Linked DNA regions of Homo sapiens: all the other regions are linked to region 3. Evidence: promoter capture Hi-C in 16 types of primary human blood cells and fetal thymus (Javierre and others, 2016). All regions are on one chromosome and are shown on one strand. Each heading gives the region's core, a stretch centred on a gene start or on the middle of the fragment in contact. The rest is flanking DNA. Distances are from core to core; before and after follow the strand shown. Region 1 overlaps LOC105376845 (a long non-coding RNA gene). Region 2 has its middle 30 kb from the start of LACTBL1. Region 3 holds the start of C1QA (complement C1q A chain).

Region 1 (3,909 bases), core at 196-2,695, 480 kb after region 3:
TGTGTTCATGTCACGTCCTGACTGAGTGTCCTGGCCAAGACACCTCACTGGACCTCAATTTCCTGATCTGTAAAATAGGGACAATGATACCTGCCCTGCCTAATTCACTGGACTCATGAGAAGCTATGGGAAGATTTCTCCCATTGCGACATATTCTACAAGTGTGTATAAGGCAATGTTTTCATCCCCTTCTGCCCAGCCAGCCTGACCAGCCCTGGGTCCCCAGAGGCTCGCACAAGTTCTGCACAGAGGTGTATTCAGGGACTGTTTTGATGAACTGAATATATTAATATATGTTCTTTTTTTTTTTCTTTTTTTTTTTTTGAGACAGAGTCTCTCTCTGTCGCCCAGGCTGGAGTGCAGTGGCGTGATCTCGGCTCACTACAACCTCCGCCTCCCGGGTTCAAGCGATTCCCCTGCCTCAGCCTCCTGAGTAGCTGGGATTACAGGTGCCTACCACCACGCCCGGCTAATTTTTGTATTTTTAGTAGAGACAGGGTTTCACCATGTTGGCCAGGATGGTCTTGATCTCCTGACCTCGTGATCCACCCACTTCAGCCTCCCAAAGTGCTGGTATGTTCTTAATTCATCTCATCAGGTAGCAGCCAACTTCAAGGCCAGTGGTGTGGATAACAAAGTCCCTCGGTCCTACGAGGAGCCCAAGCACATCTGTCACAGATACAGGAGCCCGAGCGGTCGCAGTCCACGCTAGGCGCTCGGTGCTCGCTCGTCTCAGTATAATTTGGTTCATGGATTTCTAGCCCATCTCCCCCACCAGCCTGTGCACTCCATGGATGCAGGAAATGGGTCTGGCTGGTTTTCTGCTAAATCCCCAGCACCTGGGCTGGGGCCTGACATGTGGCAGATCTTCAGTGAATATTTATTGTCGGAATGAAGGATCTTGTGGATCTGGCTCTGTTCCTTCCAGCAGTGCCACCTCTCTGCGCCTCGGATTCTTTATCTGTAAGAGGTGAGGAGGTGGGAAAATCAGCTGAGATAACGAAGAACTCAGATAACAGTTTACAAAGCCCTTGGGTCACCAAAAGGCTCGCAGTGGGCCTGGCTGCTATTATCACCATTATCATCACTACCATACTGCAGAGATGAGACAAATCCCATAGCAGCTGCAGAGGGCTGGGGGAGGGCTCCAGCCGGGCCCCAACTTTGTCCTGAAATACCACACACATTGCAAGTCCAGTGCCAGACCCATGGTTCCATTTCAGCCTCCAGACAGTGGTTCTTCTCCCCATATTTTGGAAGAAGAAATGAAGAAATTGAGACTCAGGGCAACGAGAGAACTCGCCCAGGTCACACAGCGCCTAAGCACTTGATCATTTCCTGAGTGTCTCCAGGGTGCCTGTCCCTGTGCCAGCAGCGACACATGCCCTGCCTCATTTTATCATGCCCATCTTACAGGTGAAGAAATTGAGGCCCACGGAAGTCACAGGGCTTGCCCAAGAACCACAGCCAGTTAATAGCAAAGAAGCATCTCCCGCCCCCACTCGGGCCTCAGCCTCAGTTCCCGGTGCCCACTCCACCCCCAGGAGGCTGGGATCTGAGCAGGGCCCTGGCCACCCTCTGCCACTCCGGAAGTGCCCTGTGTCTGTACCTTGATCTCCACACCCACGGTGCCAGGAAACCCCAGCAGGGGCGGCAAACTGCGGGATATTTATAGCGAGCGTGCAGAAAGCTGCCACCCCCATCTGTTTACCCAACAACGCACTTCTCGCTGGCCACTTACAGCCCCGCCAGCCACAGACAGACCCTCTCGGTCGCCTCATCTATTTTTTCCTCCCCACTTAATTTTGCATCATCCCAGCTTCCAAAATAAACTTCCCCAAACCAGCCAGGCTCATTCTGGCCCAGAATCCCTGCCCAAGAGCCCCCTTCAGCCCCTGCCCCCACATCAGCCCATACAGCAGAACCACCAAACCCAACCCGGCCCCTTGGCTGCCTTTGGCCTTGATTTAGAAGCAGCTGCTCCTGCCCCGGCGGGTTTCCGACAAGGCAGTGCCGGGGCGTCTGCCTCTGTGGGGATACCGGCTGGGCTTCTGTGTGCATAGTTGCTGGTAGGAGGCTGAAGATACTGCCCCCTGTGCCCCATCCACCTCCCCAACACACATTCACACACACATGTATGCACACACACACATATACGCAGAGCCCCACAAGCGTCAGCCTCCTCCAAGGCTTCTCTTCCCTCGTTCCCTGGCCCAAGCTGGCCTCTTCCAGCTTTGCACGTGGCCCAGCCTCTCCTCACCTGCCCAGCCACCACTCTGAACTTTTCCTTCCTCAGTCCCACCCTGCCATCTCACCTCCAGGCCTTTGGACATGCTCTTTCCTTAGCCTAGAACACTAGAACAGTTTCCCCTCACCACCTGCCAAGCTCACCTTCCCAATCCCTCAGGCCTAAACTCTAGGTCACCTCTTCCAGGAAATTCCCTGTCCAGCGTAGGGGAGCAGGTCTGTCCTGGGCCATCCTACCTTCCACCAGCCCAAGAGAGAGTTCTAAGTCACACCTAGGGTGGAATGCAGCCCCCACCCCAGTTCTCCATGAATTTCTCAGCCCAGCCCTGGCCCTGCACACATAAGCAAACCAGCTCTCTCATCCCCAGGAGAAAGGACTCCTTCACCCCAGGACCAGAGAGGATCATTCAGCCCAACCACCAGTTGCAGAAGCTAGGGACGCCTCAACCATTCCAGAATTACCATTCCAACTTCATGTTCAATCCCTTGAGTTGCAGCTTTTTCAGGCTACTAATTCACAAGCCCATTTATTTCTTCTAAGTTTTTTTGCAAAGGTTGAGGATAGGAAAGGAATGAATGTTATGTCTATTCCCATTTAAAAGAAAGATACTCGTAGGCCCATTTTTGGATAAAGAAACTATAGCTTAGAGAATCCCGCTTCAATTATTCATTCAGCACTCATGCACTGAGCTCTCACCACATCCCAGGCACATCACAGCACCAGGGGCACAGCAGTGGGCAAAACAGCCACAGTCCCTGCCCTCCTGGAGGCCCCAAGCTGCGGGAAAAGACGCATTCAACAGATGATTGCGCCAATAACTATTGAATAACCATTTGTATTACGTTGACAGTGTTTCAAAGCTCAGGACTAAGACAGAATATGTAATCAGAAGCCCACAGAAGCCTTCTCAGACCTGTTATGGAAGTTGAGACCTGCAGCAAATTAGTCCACTAAAGAGCAAGTTGAGACCAGGCACAGTGGCTTACACCTATAATCCCCGCACTTTGGGAGGCCGAGGCAGGGGGATCACTTGAGCTCAGGCGTTCGAGACCAGCCTGGCCAACATGGTGAAACTCCAACTCTACTAAAAATACAAAAATTAGCCAGGCGTGGTGGCATGGCCCTATAGTCCCAAGCTACTCAGGAGGCTGAGGCAGGAGAATCGCTTGAACCCAGAAGGCGGAGGTTGCAGTGAGCCAAGATGATGCCACTGTACTCCAGCCTGGGCAACAGAACAAGACTCTGTCTCAAAAAGAAAAAAAAAAAAAAAAAGCCAGTGGAGGGGCATTCCCAGCAGGAGAAACAGCACATGGAAAGGCCTGGAGAGACCTCTTGACCTCCCAAAGTGCTGGGATTACAGGCACACGCCACCGCGCCCAGGGGTGCAAGCCTGTAGTCCCAGGTACTCAGAAGGCTGAGGATTGCTTGAGCCCAGGAATTCAAGGCTACAGCAAGCCATGATTGCATTACTGCACTCCAGTCAGTGACTGGACAGCAAGACCCTGTCTCTAAAAAAAAAAAAAAAAAAAAAAAGAGGAAGAAGGAAGGAAGAAAGGAAGGAAGGAAGGCAGAAAGGAGGGAGGGAGGGAGGAAGGAAGGAAGGAGACATTCAAGTGCAATTCAGCACCTCGTGCAATAATCCTTAGCTATCAGTTACATTC
Region 2 (4,233 bases), core at 1,082-3,581, 310 kb before region 3:
CCCTGGCAGTCCACAATAGCCCCCTTCTGCTTGGGCAGGGGAAACACATAATGCATAGTATGTACCTTCATGGGCTGCTGAAAGGTGAACTTCTCAGCTTCCTGCAATATATCACAGGTGGCAGCCACTGCCCTTAGGCAGGTAGGCCAGCCCTTAGTTACCTTGTCAAGCTGTTTTATAAAGTAGGCCATGGGACATTTTAAGGTCCCAAGGTCTTGAGTTAATTCTCCAAGTCCAATTCCCTGTTTTTCTTGAACAAATAAATCAAAAGGTTGGTGTAGGTCAGGGAGACTCAGGGCAGGGGCTGTCATCAATTTCTCTTTAATGGTTAGAAAGGCATTTTGGCATTCTCTACTCCAAGAAAGGGGTTCCCTTTCTTCTTCTTTTAAAGTCTCCTAGAGAGGTTTGGCTATTAACCTGAAGTTAGGGATCTAAATTTGACAAAATCCAGGCATCCCTAAAGGACCACGTAGTTGTTTAAGGATACTGGAGACTGCCACCTGATTTATTGCCTCTGTGATCTGGGAGAAGATTGTGAGTCCCTTGAATCCCAGGTACTGAATGGTGGGATGAGAGATCTATGCCTCTTTCTTAGAAACCTTGTACCCTTTATCTGCCAGGAAATTTAAGACTTTGATGGCATGGAGGATGGAGTTACCCTCCATTTCACTGGCTATCAAGATATCATCTGCGTATTACAAAATAGTTCACATTAATTAACATGGAATTCTTAGGACTGTCGGATCTACATCTGTATATTTGTTTTCTTTTCTTTCTTTCTTTTCTTTTTCTTTTTCTTTTTTTTTTTTTTTGAGACAGAGTCTCGTTCTGTCACCCAGGCTGGAGTGCAGTGGTGCGATCTCGGCTCACTGCAACCTCTGCCTTCTGGGTTCAAGAGATTCTCCTGCCACAGCCTCCTGAGTAGCTAGGACTGCAGGCGTGCACCACCATGCCCAGCTAATTTTTTGTATTTTTAGTAGAGACGGGGTTTCACCATGCTGGCCAGGTTTGTCTCGAACTCCTGACCTCAAGCAATCCACCTGCCTTGACCTCCCTAAGTGCTGGGATTACAGGTGTGAGCCTCTGTGCCCGGCCTACATCTGTATATTTCTGATAAGCCTCCAAAATTCTTTCCAAAATGCTAATGGGTTCTCATCCACTTCTTGTCTAGATATAGTCATGGGAAATCAAAATTTGACCTCCCCCCAAAAAATAATAATAAAACAAAATTCAACCCCAGAATGCAGCCTGCTTGAGTAAATTATTCAAAATTGATAAATTATATCTTACAACTAGTTTCATTTTGCTATCAAATGGGAAAGTAGGATGAAATCCCTGATGTCTAAGCTTTTATACTCCTTTATCAGAACAAACCAATCAAGTTAAATGTAAAATTCTGATGCAATGGATGGAGGCTTTTAAGAAGGGTGGTGAGTCTGCACTTTTCCCTATGATCCCCATGTCACCAGCAAAGAAGAATTCTCCTTAGAGCCTACTACAACTTCTATAACCCCAGCCCAGCCATCTCAGCACTCTCCACCAGCTGCCTTGGGGTCAGCTTCAGCCTCTTTGATGGCCCCAACCCCTGAGACTTCCAAACCCTGCAAAACCCTTTCCTGACTCCTGCTAGCCCTCTCACTTATGGACCCAGGACCCGTACCTGAGTTCTGCCAGGTCTTCCCCCATATTTTCCTTTGCTCTCTCCTTTCACCAAGGAGACATCTGGGAACTCCAGAGAAATGGTCTCATCCTCTTGGACCCATCAGGGGACACAATTTGGCTGGGTTCTGCTACCCTTCTCTACAGGGCAGTTCCCTCTGAGACAGGTCCCTGTTGGGGGTTTAGCTGAAGAAGGACAGCCCGCTGGAATGATGCAAACTTACATAATTGTAAGCAGACCAAACCTGCTTATAGGGATGACCTGAAATGTATAACTAACCTCTTTGAGTCTATTTTCATGACTCATGGCCCTACATGGGCTGATGTTCAGAGCCTCCTTAAAGTCTTGCTGACATCTGAAGAGTGTCATACAGTGCTAGAAAAGGCTCAGGAAAAGGCTGATCGGTTACACACAGAAGATCCTAATAATGGGGTGAGGACTGGTTACAGTCTGGCAGTGCCCCTCCATGACCCCAGCTGGAAGCTGATCAACAGGGGTTCTGGACTGTTTTCTGGTGGGGCTCAGGAAGGGAGTCCCTCAAACCAAAAGTTTAAAGAAGGTGCAGGAAATAGACACACACGTACACACATGCGCACGTGCGCGCACACACACACACACACACACACACACACAAACACTTATCAAAATACAATCTAGGCCGGGTGTGGTGGCTCATGCCTATAATCTCAGCACTTTGGGAGGCCAAGGCAGGTGGATTACTTGAGGTCAGGAGTTCGAGACCAGTCTGGCCAACATGGCGAAACCCTGTCTCTATTAAAAATACAAAAATTAGCTGGGTATGGTGGTGCATGCCTGTGGTCCAAACTACTTGAGAGGCTGAGGCAGGAGAATCACTTGAACCCAGGAGGTGGAGGTTGCAGTGAGCCAAGATCACGCCACTGCACTCAAGCCTGGGTGACAGACTGAAACTCAGTCTCAAACCAAAACAGAACAAAAATCAATCTAACTGCAGTAGTGATTAACAAGCCCCCAAAGTGTCTGAACTGAAATAGAGTGCTTTCCACTCTCACATTAGTGGGTTGGGCTTGTTTAACCTGCAACAAATGGAAATTCTTCAGAATTTCCCAATTTGACAGGAGCAGCTCCTACTGTCTAGTACCCACAAAGGACACTCACCTGTCCAGATGCAGATGTCAAATTTCAAAGAATATTCTTCCTAGGCAATCAGGACTGCAGTTGGGGCCAAAGAGAGAGAGACTGAAACCTCTGGCCAAATATGGCTGGGCATCTGCTAGAAGGGTTTTCAAAACTCTCCCAGCCTGTGGCTGCCAAGTCACAAGCAATGCAATCCAAGTCAGGACACCAGAATTTTGTTGCTGAATGCCAGGGGTTTGACCTAGGTCCAGTTCTCACCCACAGAAAGCCAATCACTGAGACAACGAGTATTGCCAAGGAAGAAAGGCTTTATTGTGGGTGATGTCAGCCAGGAGATGAGAGACAAGTCTCAAATCTCTCTCCCCAACCAACTAAAGTTAGGGGTTTATATAGGAGTTGGTCAACAGGCATCAGGGAGTCAGATAAGGGGTCTGGCACCTCACCGTCCAGATGCAGTGATGTGGAAAGTTTCAGCTCCCTGATAGCCAATTTCCTGTGAAAGGAACTCAGATAAGAAAAATGTAAGTTTCTCAAGCTTCAAGACTGGAAGGGTCAATTTCTATCTTATTAAAAACACTTGTAAACATCAGTTCTGAGAAAATTGGGTCTGTTCAATGGTATATAATTGTTTTGATATGTTGCTGACTTCTATTTGCTAATATTTTGTTAAGAATTTTTGCATCTATACTCATGAGGAATATTGGTCTGTAGTTTTCTTTCTTTTTTTGTATATTATCTTTGTTTGGTTTTGGTATCAGGATAATATTAGCTTCATAAAATGAATTGGGAAGTGTTTCTGCCTCTTCTATTTTCTGGAAGAGATTGTGTAGATGGTATTAATTCTTCTCTAAACACTTGGTAGTATTCTCCAGTGAAACTACCTGGCTCTGGAGATTTTCTTTTTTGGTAATTAAAAAACATTGTTAATTCAATTTCCTAAATGGTTATGGGGCTATTCAATATGAGCAAGTTGTGGTAGTTTTGGCTTTTCCCAGAATTGGTCTATTTCATCAAAATTGTTGAATTTATGTCTGTAGAGTTATACATAGTGTTCTCTTATTATTTTTTTGATATCTGCAGGGCCTAAAGTGACATCCCGTTTCATTCTTCATATTGATAATTTATATCTTCTCTCTTTTTTCCTGTTAGTCTTTCTAGAAGTTTGTCAATTTTGAAACAGTGAAGCAAACCAGTTTTTTGTTTCATTGGTTTTCTTTCTTGCTTTTCTGTTTTTAATGTTATGCTGTTATTTTATTATTTCAATCTTCTGCTTGCTTTGAGTTTATTGTGTTCCTTTTTTCCTAGATTTTTTTTTCTGGATTCTTGACATGGGAACTTAGATTATTGATTTGATAATGCAATTACTGTTTGTTTTAGGCCAGTAAATATTGAAGTTCTTTATTACACGACAAGAGAAAGCTGGAACAGTTATGAGGTACCCAACCGAAATTGAGTCA
Region 3 (3,948 bases), core at 1-2,500:
AGACGGACTCCTGATTCTCAGTGCCACCCCAAGCCTTCACCCTGGAGGCCAAGTCAGGCCAAGGTCCAAGGGGCTGGGTCCCGAGGAAGGGTGCTTACCCGGCTCCCCTTGCTCCCCCTTGAGGCCTGGCCGCCCCCGTCTGCCAGGTCTTCCTGCCTCCCCTTTCTTCCCGTCTGGTGCTCGGCACAAGTCCTCGGTCACCATAGAGGCCAGCGATATGGCCAGCACACAGAGCACCAGCCATCCCCGGGGACCCTCCATGATGCCTCTGTGGAGACACGGGAGGGCCTGGGCAGGTTGGACATCACACTCACACCCAGCTCCCACCCTTGAGTCCCATGCACACAATGATATATGCACAGTCCTCCCCAAGTGCACATGCACCCTCTGGGGCTCTCAATGTCCACTCTCAATCCAGCCCCAGGACCCCACGCATATACACAGAACCACAAACTCACACACATCCACACATGCAACAGAGCACACCCACATCTTCACACACTCACACAAACACAGCTCTCATCCACGCACCTACAAAACACAGTAGGCAAACTCAGAAATCCACTATACCCCCCTAGACACACAACTGATACCCAAATAGACCCTGTCCCTCACTTGCACGGACACACACATTCATACACTCCCACAGGTAATCGATTTCATTGAACAAATATGTATTGAGCGCCTGCTCCTTATTTAATTAACACTGGCTCACCCAGATGGTGGAGCTCTGCATACACACAGGAATTCACAAACGCCCAAAGCGACACCTGCTCACTCTTCTGCATGCTCAGCGCCTTTCAGCATCCACCTGAGCATGGGTGACTGGCTGCCCCTACAGTCCCCTCTGCTGGGTCCCACTGCCAGCTCTAGCACCCCAGGCTTTTCCTGGTTTCTTATGTGTTATGGGGCCAGGACCCAGGAACCCTGGTCTTACCCTTCAGTTGTTAGGTCTAACTCATCGCCTCTCACCCTCCCCCAAGCCCTGGCTCAAGGAGTTAAGGTCCCTCCACTCACCCATTCTGGGTCCTGGATCAGTGCTGCACCCCCATCCCTGTCCTAGAATCAGGCACAGTTATTTCCCTCCCTCCCTGCCTCAGCTGCCCAGCCTCCTGGGCCAGCTCCCCTGGGTCCCAGAACTCTGCAGCCCCCTCCCTCTGGGACTCTGGCCTCACCTGCCTCCTGTTGTCAACTCCAACTGGATGCTCCTGCCCTCCGCCCAGGGACCCTGTGGGCTGCCCAGCAGGAGTGGCTCCAGGCTGTGGCCAAGTTTCACATCCCTTCCTACTTCCCCTTCTTCAGACCTGCCCCCTGAACTTCCCCAGTGGCCAGAAGCTCACCAGGGACATTTCAAGCAGACTTCAGCAAGACTGGGACATTGGGCGTCCTGCCCCAGCAACAGCTGGTGTGGGAGTGGGGGCAGTGAGGCCAGTGCCTGTGAGGATGTGGGGTGGAGGCCGTGCAGGGTGAGGTTCTGAGAACCAGCGAAGCACAGAACACCAGAGCGGAAGGAATCTTTAAAAAAATCTGTCCCTTGTAGGACTTTTCATGATTATGAAAGTGACATGCAATTCATTGCCAAAAGCTTGGAAAATACAAAGAAGAAAGAACAGTGCATTGGTGAGAAGGAAGCACAGCAATCTGTTTCTAGACTTGCTGCTTCCTAGTTGCATGTCTTTGGGAAATTACTTGACCTCCTGAGCCCTCAGTTTTATCTGTACACTGGGAACGGGGTCCTATATCATCTGATTATTATAACATTTTAATGACTTGCACATACAAAACACTTGGCACATGGTGAACACTTAGTCACTAGCTTTTGCCAACATTTAAAAAAACAGCAAGTCTAGGTGCTTTGGCTCACGCCTGTAATCCCAGCATTTTGGGAGGTCAAGGCAGGCGGATCACTTGAGGTCAGGAGTTCGAGACCAGCCTGGCCAACATGGTGAAACTCCATCTCTACTAAAAATTTAAAAAATAGCCAGGTGTGGTAGCATGCACCTGTGTAGTCCCAGCTATTTGGGAGGCTGAGCTGGGAGGATTGCTAGAGCCCAGGAGGTTGAGGCTGCAGTGAGCTTTGATCTTACCACTGCACTCCTGCCTGGGAGACAGAACAAGACCCCATCTCAAAAAAAAAAAAAAAAAAAAGAGATGGCAATGGCGGGCCGTCTGGAATGGCTGCTGTCATCACACTGGCTGCAGCAGGGAGGCACGGCCAGGGCTGCATGCTCCATGTAGCCAGTGGGAGCTGGGGACAGTGGGAACCCCGCCCTCCTGGGAACCACTGCAGCTGCCAAACCACAGCTGATCCTGCTTCATGGAGCAGGTGGGGGCCCCCGCCATCCCCCATGCAGCTGCAGCTGCCTAAACTGCAGCTGTGGACCCAGGCATCCCTGCAATCTTGGGGGCCCGGGAAGGCCCCCCGCCCCACCCTTCAGGCTCAGAAGTGTCTGCTCCCACTGCCTGGCTTCTCCCTCCTCTTGGCGCCCACTCTGATCTTAGAGCAAAGTTGGTGCTGAGCCTGGGTGCTGTCGCAGCCTGGCTGGGTGTGGGCATGCTTGGGGCAGTGCTGACACACTAGACCCCTGCTGCCTTGGCCCCCTCTGGACTTTGGGCACTGACTAGCATGGAAGGAAAGCCAAGGGGAAACTGAGGGCAGCTCGGCACTGGCCTGCAGACGCTCCTTGGCATGAACAGCCTGGGCACCATGAACAGCAGCAGGAGACAGACAGGCTCCTGGGTGGAAGGGGATGGGTCCCTGGTGAGGCCCTACCTTCAAGCCAGGGAGGGCCTCAAGGCTGGGGGCCAGGCTGCCAGTCCCACACACCAGAGTGGGAACTTATGGTGTATTTTCTGGGCTTGCCTATAGCCACCCATGGACCAATCAGTATGCACTTCCTCCTCTCTGAGGCTCATGAAAGCTTCAGGCTCAGCCAGAGCTGGGCAGACATTGGATGACCAGCTGCCGAGAGGAGCTACCCGCTCCAGGGCCTCCTCTCTGCTGAGAGCTGCAGAGATGGCAGAACAACTTGCCTGCAGAAAGGAGCTTCCCATTCCAGGGTCTTCCCTCTTCTGAGAGCTGGAAAGTCGACAGGATGACCTGCCTGCAGAGAGGAGCTTCCCATTCCAGGGTCTCCTCTCTGCTAGCAGCTGAACACTCATCAGGACACCCTGGCTGTGGAAAGGAGCTGCCCCCTGAGGGAGGCTCTGCAGGAGGCTGAGCTGTTCTATCGCTCAGTAAAGCTCCTCTTCGTCTTGCTCACTCCCCACTTGTCTGCATACCTCATTCTTCCTGGTTGCAGGATAAGAACTTGGGACCCATCAAATGGTGGGGCTGAAAGAGCTGTAACACAAACAAGGCTGAAACATGCCCCTTGCTTGCCATGATGCAGGTGAAGGGAAGGAAAGAAGAGCTGCGGCCCTCTGGGGAACCCAGACCTGGGAGCTCCCCAAGCTGGAGCTGTGACTCCCTTTTCGGGGCCCTGTGGTTCCTGGCATCTCGAAGCTTCTGGGTGCCACCGTGTTCCCCGGTGCCAGCTGTGGAAGCTGCTTGTGGTGTACTTGGTCTAGCCACAACCTCTCAGAGAGCTGGCGCCCATGCTGGCACCTGGAGCTGCTCACCCCGCTGCAGCAGCCGGCATGTCTGACTGTGTGCAGTGGCCAGACCCCATGTTCACTCACACACCCTTCACTGTTCCATGCCTGACTTGCCCTGGGCAGATGTGGAACCCAGGCTGGTAATGTGAGCTGAGTGCTGCCTGCCAGGAGGAGTGAGTGAAACAAGCCCAGTGGGCCTGAGCAAAACTTGGGCAAAGGTGCCACCAGCCACAGAGGTTTCCGGCCAGAAAATGACACCCCAAAGATCCTGTAACACCATCTCAAAAAAAAACAAAAAACAAAACCCAGCAACAAAAGCCTGTGAATTCTACCATCTAGAGACAATTGCTG

Evidence for each region. The method cuts DNA at HindIII sites, captures the fragments that hold promoters and counts their contacts. A CHiCAGO score of 5 or more calls a contact.
Region 1: a contact is called between a fragment that was not itself captured here and the fragment with the promoter of C1QA in region 3, in 1 of 17 cell types (erythroblasts). The highest score is 6.8, in erythroblasts.
Region 2: a contact is called between a fragment that was not itself captured here and the fragment with the promoter of C1QA in region 3, in 1 of 17 cell types (endothelial precursors). The highest score is 5.2, in endothelial precursors.

The regions. Positions count from the first base shown.
Region 1 is chr1:22,151,955-22,155,863 of GRCh38, reverse strand. It overlaps LOC105376845 (a long non-coding RNA gene), which reads right to left. Exons shown (of 5, transcript XR_947050.1): 2 at 538-961; 3 at 1-67. Among named protein-coding and RNA genes, the nearest start is that of WNT4, 11 kb to the right of the region's middle. The HindIII fragment of the contact is 5,397 bases long and covers 1-3,909 here.
Region 2 is chr1:22,940,434-22,944,666 of GRCh38, reverse strand. No RefSeq gene overlaps it. Among named protein-coding and RNA genes, the nearest start is that of LACTBL1, 30 kb to the left of the region's middle. The HindIII fragment of the contact is 1,964 bases long and covers 1,350-3,313 here.
Region 3 is chr1:22,633,930-22,637,877 of GRCh38, reverse strand. It overlaps C1QA (complement C1q A chain), which reads right to left and starts at 1,250. Exons shown (of 3, transcript NM_015991.4): 1 at 1,176-1,250; 2 at 99-268. The coding sequence starts at 261. The HindIII fragment of the contact is 10,061 bases long and covers 1-1,587 here.